Regions from separate parts of the Homo sapiens genome. Here regions 2 and 3 are each linked to region 1. Evidence: promoter capture Hi-C in human tissues and cell types (Jung and others, 2019). All regions are on one chromosome and are shown on one strand. The core of a region is centred on a gene start or on the middle of the fragment in contact, and the rest is flanking DNA. Distances in the headings are between cores, read along the strand shown. Region 1 holds the start of OMG (oligodendrocyte myelin glycoprotein). Region 2 overlaps NF1 (neurofibromin 1). Region 3 overlaps NF1 (neurofibromin 1).

Region 1 (3,706 bases), core at 543-3,042:
CAACAGAAACTAAACTTGATACAGCCTAAACCCAAATTCATTTGAATCCATTAATGAAGTAACATGTCTTTTCTTTCAAACAAAAGTACTGTTAAGTGTAATGAAAATGCATAACTCTACTTCTACACTGACTTAATGAGGTTTCCTAAAATTAAGAGATTTAAGTGGTCGGTAAATTGACCCTCAGTCACATCTTTAGAAGTGCAGCAGTGTATATATGAGCTTAAATAGAACTCTAAATGTCAATGCATTCCCTATTTCCACAATATTGCTGAATGTAGTATTTTTAACACATTATTTTAAGCACTATGATTGATGGCTGGTTTCCTAAATCCACAGTAAGAATCCAATTGAGAGTTCAACTGAACCCTCAAAGTAAAGTGGCAATAAAGCACCCAATCAACAATAAACTTCTATGTTGCGGACTCTTAAAATGCAGATACTTTTCGAGGAACATTAGTTTTATACAAAAGGTGGCTCCTAGAGTATAGTTTCTCTTGTAAGAAAATAAACTTCAAATTTTAATACAACAAATTCTATTTGTGGTATAATCTAAATAATGCTAATATAATTTAGAGAAAAACAAACGATTTAGTAACAAGGCATAAAGAGACTTTCCTTACACATAACATGCTAAATATTACTCGTTTTTAAATGGTGCCACTTGGTAACGAAAATACCGTAACTTTATTTGCTTTCTTTAAACTTGCCATTCTGGAAATCAGATTTGTGTTTTAACAGATTTACACAAGCAGTCCACTGAAGAGTGGAGCAAAATTTATCATAAATCTGATCTCACTTTATAAAACTCATGATGAAAAATTTTCCTTTTATATCATTTCATGTAATTTTAAAACTATAAACTACTTTCCCAGAAAGATGAAATGTGCAACACTCTGAAATCACCTAAATTGATACTGCTATTCTTAAAACATAAAATCAAATAAATGGTCATTCATACAGCACCAAAAATGTCTTTGGAAAAAACAATACTCATATCCACTTACCACCCAAGGTTGCATAAAGAAAAAAAACTTTAACTCCAAATATATAAAATAAAACATGTTTATTTTACATAGGAACTGATAATCTGAAGTATAAGATGCTAATTTCCAAATGTATCCTGGCTTGTGTGTAGCCTTGGTCAAATGATCATTGTATCAGAAAGATAAAGAAAAAATAATCGTATTTCAGTACTTCTATACATCCTAAAAGGGAAGACGGAACACTTAAGTGGTTGATAAATTTGAAAAGCTGATTAAACATAATAATCACCATGTTGGGGGAAGACATAAAAGTCATAAAACAGATTTTTTATAATATTAAAAAAGTGACATGAAAATTATACAATTTTAGAAAGGAATATAAAAAGGCAGGAGTTAAAAAATAGTGGGACTAATATCATAGAAAACTATCCATGAGGAAGGTCAAATTTATTTTCAACATGTAAAAAGGATAAAGAGTAGAGGTATTTTAAAAATTCACAGATTCTTAATGAGGCAAATGTTAAAATATGGAACCCAATCTCAGACAAATACATAGAAAGGAGTAAGGGCCAACTCTCATGCATAAGGTATCCCATCCTATAGCAAATCAGATATATAGGTACGCTTGATGCCACAAATTTTTTAAAAAATTGTCCATTTTGTTGCGTGTGCACCTCTTGCCATAAATTTGAGTCAGCACCAGCGACAGCTCTGCAGTCCTCCTATGTGGTACTGATCAGGTGGTTGCAGAGCTTCAGCTCACAGCAACACAATGCAGCTGAGCAGGCAAGCACAGCCCACAGCCAGAAACAGTTCCGACTCTACAGAACAAGACGACCTTTAAGTTTCCCAGAGAAAATGAGATGCTGATGTTGAAGACGACACCACGGTAAGATGTTATTTAAATCAGTAAAAGGCTGACTTTGGAATCTTTTTCCTTTTTCTTTTAAGAAAAAGTCAACGTTAGGATTAAATATATATTCAATAGCAAGTGCATGCACCAGAAATTTGCTGCAGTGTCAGTTGAGGGATATTTTTTATACATTCAGTCACTCTGTAAATATACATATTGTTTTCCTTTAAAATGGGCACTGAAATATACAGAAAAAAATCACTTTATAAAATGTGAGGTTTATAGGTACTGTGTTGGTCTGGATTTTTCAAGTGCTTTTTACAAAGATATATTTATCCTAAAAACATACAGATAAAATTTCGAAGAACTGCTTTAATATCTAAATAAAATCTACCCTATATACACACATTGAATTACATTACTGCAGAGATTAAAAAAAAAAGACACGACAGCCATTTTTTCTCATCTGAGTAAGAAAGCATATCATCAAAAATAGTAATAGCCTACAACTGCAACTATTTATTTGCAAAGAATGCTATTTTATCATATTAAGGCTCTAGAAAGATAAATAAGAAAGAATATGGTTAGAAAAGGGGGGAGGGAGAGAGAAAATAAAGGAGAAAATGCAGGAGAGAGTAGGGAGAGAGTCTCTCTCTACCACATAGCCCAATTGAAGGATTAAGCATTTGGACTATAAATGAAGGGGAGCTTTGTTAGTTTAATCACTGGAACAATTATAAAAGGACTCGACAACAACGAGGTTTATTGAAAATTTTGCCTAATGCTAACTGACCCATGCAGATGCCTAAACTGTATTTGCATATTAAAAGAAGGGTGTATCTGTTTGTTTCTAGGCTTTGATGGAATATCAGATATTGAAAATGTCTCTCTGCCTGTTCATCCTTCTGTTTCTCACACCTGGTATTTTATGCATTTGTCCTCTCCAATGTATATGCACAGAGAGGCACAGGCATGTGGACTGTTCAGGCAGAAACTTGTCTACATTACCATCTGGACTGCAAGAGAATATTATACATTTAAACCTGTCTTATAACCACTTTACTGATCTGCATAACCAGTTAACCCAATATACCAATCTGAGGACCCTGGACATTTCAAACAACAGGCTTGAAAGCCTGCCTGCTCACTTACCTCGGTCTCTGTGGAACATGTCTGCTGCTAACAACAACATTAAACTTCTTGACAAATCTGATACTGCTTATCAGTGGAATCTTAAATATCTGGATGTTTCTAAGAACATGCTGGAAAAGGTTGTCCTCATTAAAAATACACTAAGAAGTCTCGAGGTTCTCAACCTCAGTAGTAACAAACTTTGGACAGTTCCAACCAACATGCCCTCCAAACTACATATCGTGGACCTGTCTAATAATTCTTTGACACAAATTCTTCCAGGTACATTAATAAACCTGACAAATCTCACACATCTTTACCTGCACAACAATAAGTTCACATTCATTCCAGACCAATCTTTTGACCAACTCTTTCAGTTGCAAGAGATAACCCTTTACAATAACAGGTGGTCATGTGACCACAAACAAAACATTACTTACTTACTGAAGTGGATGATGGAAACAAAAGCCCATGTGATAGGGACTCCATGTTCTACCCAAATATCATCTTTAAAGGAACATAACATGTATCCCACACCTTCTGGATTTACCTCAAGCTTATTCACTGTAAGTGGGATGCAGACAGTGGACACCATTAACTCTCTGAGTGTGGTAACTCAACCCAAAGTGACCAAAATACCCAAACAATATCGAACAAAGGAAACAACGTTTGGTGCCACTCTAAGCAAAGACACCACCTTTACTAGCACTGATAAGGCTTTTGTGCCCTATCCAGA
Region 2 (3,706 bases), core at 832-3,331, 45 kb after region 1:
AATTTACTTAATATAATCAAAAATAAAATCTTCAATGGACACAACAAAAGTATATGTCTATAAATTTAAATTTTGATTTGAATTTTAAAAATCTATATTTAAAGCTTAGATAATTTATATGTACAGCTTAGAAACTTATATGTAAAGCTTTTTCGTTTTCTTTTTTTTTTTTTTTTTTTGTGAGACAGGGTCTTACTCTGTCACTCATGGTGGAGTACAGTGATACAATCACAGCTCACTGCAGCCTCAACCACCTGGGCTCAAGCAATCCTCCTGCCTCAGCCTCCCGAGTAGCTGGGACTACAGGAGTACACCACCACGCCTGGCTAATTAAAAAAAAAAAAAAATTATTTGTAGAGACGACTCGCTATGTTGCCCAAGCTGGTCTTTAACTCTTGGGCTCAAGAGATACTCCCACCTTGGTCTCCCAAAGTGCCCGGATTACAGGTATGAGCCACTGTGCCCAGCCATAAAGCTTTTATTATATGTAAAGTTTAGATAAGGCATGAAAGATGAAACCAGATGAACACTGTATTCTAAATTACACCCTTTTAAGAAAACTACCTACTTAGTTTTCTTTACATCTTACTCTACAATCATTTGGATTATATGAACAAAGACAGGGCTCAGCCTGATAAGTCACTGTGACAGATAATGGCAAATGTAAAATGAATGCATATTATATTTTGGACAAATTCCATTCACTGGAAGAAAATAATTACGACTCTCATAATTTTCTTCCTTTTAAATAAATCAAGGCAAGTTCATAGAAGCAGATAGTATATTCACATTATGTTTGCAGAATGATGTGTTTTTCTACAAATATGAACTCAGTTTTCTTTTATCTCAAAAGTACTATCTTATCATTTACCTCTTATTTTTTTGAGGTAAAAGTAGTTTTACCATTAAAATTTCTATAATCTATGCACAAATATCTAAATTATGCCTGAGACTGCCTAGATAAAAATATGAAGAGTAAAAAAATAAAATTTAGCAACTTTTAGGTAAGATTTAGAAAGTGACTCTTTCCCACCATATACTTCTAACAATTAAGAAACACTGTCATCTCTGGGAAAAGAAACCACTCACATTACCTTCAAACAAGAAGCAAGAATGAAGACAGTCAGCGTTTCCTAAGGCCTTGAAATTAAGTTTCTTTGCATTCATTTATAATTTAAAAAGTAACAATAATAAAATTAGACCAAGGATATCCAATGCAACAAATGCCCACAAATTGCCTTTGGGATAAATCAAACCAAAGGAACACAGAGAATGTTTCAATGTAACTTAATTCCAGGGTTAATTGAAATGAAAGCTATTTTGTGCCAGAATTAGTAGAATGATTTTACAGTGAAGGTCAAATAGGCTGAAGTGAAGATATTCTTAACAAACAGCAAAAGATTTTTGTTTTGCTTTGAAAGAAACAGCTAATAAAAAGTTCTCCAAACTTACTGATTTTTTGTTTTCCTTTTTTTCTTTTACTGTAGCTTTATTCAGTAGGGAGTGGCAAGTTGCCTACAGAACAGAGATGAGCACAAACAAGTCACAGCACCGACTACATACAGCAACAAAAACAATGTTGGCTTGTACATAAAATTACACCATAAAATGTAACACAAATGGAATCAACAAAAAATTAGAAATCAACTGAATTTTGAGGAATGAATTTTAATTCTGGGTTTTAATTTTTATTACATTTTTAAGCCAAGCACTAAAACAGCAAGAAATGTTGAGACCCAATCATGTCTACTATTTCTGGCTATGAATCACAGAAAAACTCTCTCCAAGTGAATTTGAGGATATTAAATATTTACATTTTGGTTAATTCCTAGCTTTTGAGAAATGTAATATAAAATATTCATTACAAGTAGATCACACACTAAAAACATTTGTGTCTACATAATTTTTTCTTGGTATGTAAAATTCTTCTCTGTGTATCCTTCAATTGACTTTAAGTTCTTTTTCCAACACCTGGCATTTAATTATGATCCTACTGAATAAAGAAATAAAAATTATATGGATAAATATAAAAATTCACTTTAGAAATTCTGAATTAAAGACCTCTCTCTCTAAAAAAGATTACTCTTAACATTTCACATATTTTTCAATGTTTGCAGGCTACTTCCTGAAATGGTTCTAATCAGAGGAGGTTAAAAGCTCTGCAACATTTGGGAGAAGAAGGTTATCAGCTCAACTAGTAAGAAGCATTAATATTATTAAAGTGAAGAAACTGCAGAGAAAATTACAGAACAAAACTGTAGGCCTGCTTAAAACTTTTCACATATTACAGTTGACCATTTATCAAAATATCTTAAAAAAAAAAAAAAAAAAAGCCACCTAAAAAACCCCCAAAACTCCAGGCACATATTGGTTTCATCTCTCAGAGCTCTTTCTAGACCAAAGATTTCTTTCAAAATTAAAAGACTCTTGATTGGACTAGCCTAGGCAGAATAATTATTTTAAAAATATTTTTAAAACCATGTTAGAATTATTTAATCCACAAATAGATGGCATCTTATTCTGGGAATTCTGGACATCCAACACCATAACCCATAACTTGGGCTTTAAGTTAGTTAGACATCCATTCATCCACCCACCCATTCATCCATCCAAAGAGTTACTGTGTACCTACAGGTCAAATACCATTCTAGGCATTGGGAAATAGCAGTAAAACAACAAGACACAGCCCCTTAGCTCACAGAGCTTTGTTTCAAACTTTAGACTATATACAAATGTATTAGTAACAGTGGTATATAACTATCATTTATAGCCTTAAAACTGTGTGTAAACTACTTCAGTTTGGAGAAGCAGATTTACTGAAAAAGGGTGAGATTTATTTAGAATCATAAATTAGTTCTTAGAATTCTCTCACCATACGAGAATATCCACTTTGGGAATCATTTTATCTTTATCCTAAAACCATCAGGAGAAGTGAAAACAACACATGAGAAAATGATTTAATTATAAATCTGACACATGTTCACAGTTGGCTATTCTTAAATAACCTTAATCCAGTCAACTAAGGAAGGAAGGTATATAAAGTAATAGAGCTGGTTAACACATGATTTGAAAAGGCTTAAAGGCCAAGATATGAACTCAAAAAAGGAGCTAAAGTCCAGGGAAGTTTATTAGCTAGCAATATACTCACTTCCCTTTCAACATTTCCCCAGTAGGTCCCAAAGGGACTACTATCCCTCCAGGCAGAACACAGAAGAGCAGGAAGGTACCTTTCTGTTACTGCCAAAGGCAAAGGGGCAAGAAAAAGCCAGAAGAGGGAAGATGAATAAAAACAAAAGAGCAAACCAAAAGAAATAAACTAGGTTTGGGAAGCAGACTCAATAAAATACTATCTTGAGACCAAAGCTTTTTTCCTATCTTTCTTTCTAATCAGTAAATGTAACATTCCCTGTTACCAGTTACTAATTAAAAAATAAAGCCTTATTTAATAACAACACAGCATGCTGTCTCTGCTCTTCAACAATGCTTTTACCCAATACTTAAACAATGCACTGATACCACCTTTAATTCATGTTTTTAAAGATAATAATTTTATGTGAAATTTTAACATAATAAACCAGGTTTGTTATTAAAATAATATAGGATATTTTACTGTGAAGTGCTCTAAAAAGCATAACATACTGTTTAATAATCACCACATATAGTGTTTAAAAATCTATTTTCACTATTTTCCTCCTTTCTTAGCTGT
Region 3 (3,706 bases), core at 1,207-3,706, 34 kb before region 1:
TATACACAACACAAAATTTACCATTTTAACTATTTTTAAATGTACAGTTCCGTGGCTTTACCCATTTTGAAGGGCACAGTTCAGTGGCACTGAGTACATTCAAATCATTGTGCAGCCATCACCACCATCCATCTCTAGAACCTTTTCATCTTCCAAACTGAAATTCTGTAACAAAGCCATTTTTCAATGGCTTCATATTATTCCATCAGATGGAGAACCAATAATTTAATCAGTTCCTTATTCTTTGACTTTTGGCCTGTTCATTTTTTTGCTATTATAAATAATGTCATATGAAGTTCTAAAGTAGGCAAAATAAATCTGTGCAATAGAGGTCATAATAGTGTTTACTCTTGGTGAAGGGAGGGTACTGAGAATATCCCTCTGGATGCTAGAAATGTTCTATGTCTAGATCTGGAGATACTTTCATGATGTATTTGCATGTAGAAGTTCATCAAGCTGTTGACTTAAGATCTTGCACTTTACTGATGACAAGATATACCTCAATTTAAAAATCTACATAAAAATAATGCTATAATAAACATTTTAACATTAATTCTTTAGGATAAATGCTAAAAAGCAGAATTATGAGGCCAAAAGGTATGAATAGTCTTAAGGTCTTGTTATCCACTTCCAAATGCCTTTCTAGAAAAATTGCCTCTACTCACAATTCCACAGACCACCAGGAATGGATCTTAAAAAAAAAATCTTTGCCAAGCTGATAACTGATTATCTCACTATTCTTTCAATTGGCTTTTATTAGTGAATTTCTTAAAATATAAATATTCTTTTTGAGATGGGGGCCTCACTATGTTGTCCAGGCTGGTCTCAAACTCCTGGGCTTAGCGATCCTCCTGAGCAGGTGGGATTACAGGCATGTGCCATGGTGCCTGGCTTTTTTCTTTTTTTGTACAAATATTCTTTTTTAAAAAACATAAAAAATGATGAGTTCATATCCTTTGTAGGGACATGGATGAAATTGGAAACCATCATTCTCAGTAAACTATCGCAAGAACAAAAAACCAAACACCGCATATTCTCACTCATAGGTGGGAATTGAACAATGAGATCACATGGACACAGGAAGGGGAATATCACACTCTGGGGACTGTGGTGGGGTCGGGGGAGGGGGGAGGGATAGCATTGGGAGATATACCTAATGCTAGATGACACAGTAGTGGGTGCAGCGCACCAGCATGGCACATGTATACATATGTAACTAACCTGCACAATGTGCACATGTACCCTAAAACTTAGAGTATAATAAAAAAAAAAAAAAAACCATGATCTGTATGTTACTGTTAATCCACTTTTTATTAATCGGTCAGCACCCTTCATGATTAAGGATTTTATTCATTCATTCATTCATTTATTCATTCATTTATTTATTTTGAGACAGAGTCTCCCTCTGTTGCCCAGGCTGGAGTGCAGTGGAGTGATCTCGGCTCACTGCAACCTCTGCCTCCTGGGTTCAAGCAATTCTCCTGCCTCAGCCTCCTGAGTAGCTGGGACTACAGGCATGTACCACCGAGCCCGGCTAATTTTTGTATTTTTAGTAGAGAGGGGATTTCACCATATTGGCCAGGCTGGTCTCGAACTCCTTACCTTGTGATCCACCCACCTCAGCCTCCCAAAGTGCTGGGATTACAGGCGTGAGCCACCGCGTCTGGCCGATTAAGGATATTAATCATTTCTCATATTTGCTCCAAGTGTATTTCCTAGTTTTTAATTATCTTCACTTGTGTTTATTTTTGAGTAGCTATGTTTTGAAGTTTTATGTAGTCAAATCTGTTCGCTATTTCCTTTGTTTCATCCTATCACTTTTTTACTTCATATGTCCTTACTCATCTAGAAAGCAATTAAATATTCACTTGTTCCTCTTCTTTTTAAAATGGTTCCAAGCTTTTATATACAACTTTTTTTTTTTTTTTTTTTTTTTTTTTTTTTTTTTAATAGAGAAGGGTCTCACTCTATCATCCAGGCTGGAGTGCAGTGGTACGATGATAGCTCACTATAGCCCTGACCTCTGGGGCTCAAGCAATCCTCCTGCCACAATCCTCTTGCCTCAACCTCCCAAAGTGCTGGGATTACAGGCGAGAGCCACCACACACAGCCCTACTCAACTCTTAAATACAGGCAGAACATACTTGGTATCTTATGGTGTACGGTGAAGACGAAGACCTAATTTAAGTCATTTCCCAGCCTCATTTATTAAATGATTTAATCTCTCCCTCATCAGTTTGTGATGCTTCTTTATCAATCTGTTTCTCTTAAACTGATCTGATGGCTGATTCTTGCACATGTATGTTTTAATTATTGTACTGCTATAAAGTGTTCAGACATCTGTACTATTAAGTCTCAAGTCTCTTTCCTTTCAATATTTTCTTAGCTATTATTGCACTTTTATGTAGAATTTAGAATCATTTAAGTTCTATCTCCATTCTCAATCCTCAAATCCCATGGTTATTTTGATGAAATTACATTAAATTTGTAATAATCTGGGAAGAACTGTTCATGCAGGAACACAATATGCCTTTACATTCACTCAAATCTTCTCTCATATTAATATTTATGAATAAAGTTTATACTTTTCTTGTTTTGTCAGTCCTACACATTTTTTTGTTAGGGTTATAGTCCTACATCTCTTACCTGACAAAGAGTCTTAGTGAATTGCTGAAGCTTTTAATTATCTAATATATAAAAGTCAAGAAATGTGTTTGAATGCAGAAAAAAAAGTTTTATATATTACAGGGAAAGGAAAGGGAAGAAAAGGTCAGGAAATATGCTGGGAGAAGATCAACATTTATAAAACTATAGGATATAAAGATGGACAAATATAAAGAGTGGATATTAAATTTATAAGACTTAGTTAAAACAAAGTCAGAACTGACTCTGGGCCCTGTATTATGTGCCACTGTGCTCTCCGTGAACTGTACATTTACAATAAATTCATTGTTCAAAGTCAACCTAAAGAAAAGAGAAAATGACTAGTTCTCTAAAATTAAGGAGGCAACATGGATACTTATGTGGACTTTTCTGCTATGAAGAGAAATGCTGAAGCTAATTAAACTGCAACAGTGAAGAAAATACTTTGTAAGTGGTCCAGAGGTGTGTAAAGTACCAAACTCTTGCCGCTTTGCTTTTATTATCAGAATTTTGGTGGATTTCTCAATGTGGCCTACCAAAAAGTTCCTTCAGAGTTCCTTCAGTTACAGGATACCACAGATATAAAATCAGAAGAGGAAAAAAAGTAAAAATGTAAGTGAAAGTCTTCACTGGAAAATTCTGAAATGAAAGGGTTTTCTTTGAATTCTCTTAGAATAATTGTTAGTATTAAAGAAAATTATCATTACTTACTAGATTTGCTAAATCCAGAAATACACTCTTCCAAAAATTCTAACGTGAGGTGTGGCTCATTGGCTGCCAGTGTCTTACTAATAGAGACAATAAAGAGGGTGTTGTTGGCAGGGATACATAAACCTGATGTCTCTAGTAACTGGCCCTCGATTTTTAAATTAAAGGTACAAGTTAAGGCACACAGAAGATTATAGGCAGCTGACCTAGGAGAAAACACAAATGAAGTTGTTTTAAAACGTATTTTTCCTTATAGTTCCAAAATTTTTTCATAACATACAATTTGTGATTCTGTTACAAAGTATGATCAACTATTTTTAAATTTTATGATCAGTTAGAAATAAGATGTTATAAT

The links. The method cuts DNA at HindIII sites, captures the fragments that hold promoters and counts their contacts. A contact is called where the count stands out against the background at its distance.
Region 2: a contact is called between a fragment that was not itself captured here and the fragment with the promoter of OMG in region 1, in 2 of the 25 tissues and cell types used here (hippocampus and mesenchymal stem cells).
Region 3: a contact is called between a fragment that was not itself captured here and the fragment with the promoter of OMG in region 1, in 1 of the 25 tissues and cell types used here (mesendoderm cells).

Annotation. Positions count from the first base shown.
Region 1 is chr17:31,295,325-31,299,030 of GRCh38, reverse strand. It overlaps OMG (oligodendrocyte myelin glycoprotein), which reads left to right and starts at 1,792. Exons shown (of 2, transcript NM_002544.5): 1 at 1,792-1,875; 2 at 2,694-3,706. The coding sequence starts at 2,700. The region is part of intron 36 of NF1 (neurofibromin 1); the gene reads right to left. The HindIII fragment of the contact is 15,224 bases long and covers 1-3,706 here.
Region 2 is chr17:31,250,747-31,254,452 of GRCh38, reverse strand. It overlaps NF1 (neurofibromin 1), which reads right to left. Exons shown (of 58, transcript NM_001042492.3): 31 at 1,453-1,515. Among named protein-coding and RNA genes, the nearest start is that of OMG, 45 kb to the left of the region's middle. The HindIII fragment of the contact is 3,539 bases long and covers 312-3,706 here.
Region 3 is chr17:31,330,147-31,333,852 of GRCh38, reverse strand. It overlaps NF1 (neurofibromin 1), which reads right to left. Exons shown (of 58, transcript NM_001042492.3): 39 at 3,355-3,557. Among named protein-coding and RNA genes, the nearest start is that of EVI2A, 10 kb to the right of the region's middle. The HindIII fragment of the contact is 3,100 bases long and covers 907-3,706 here.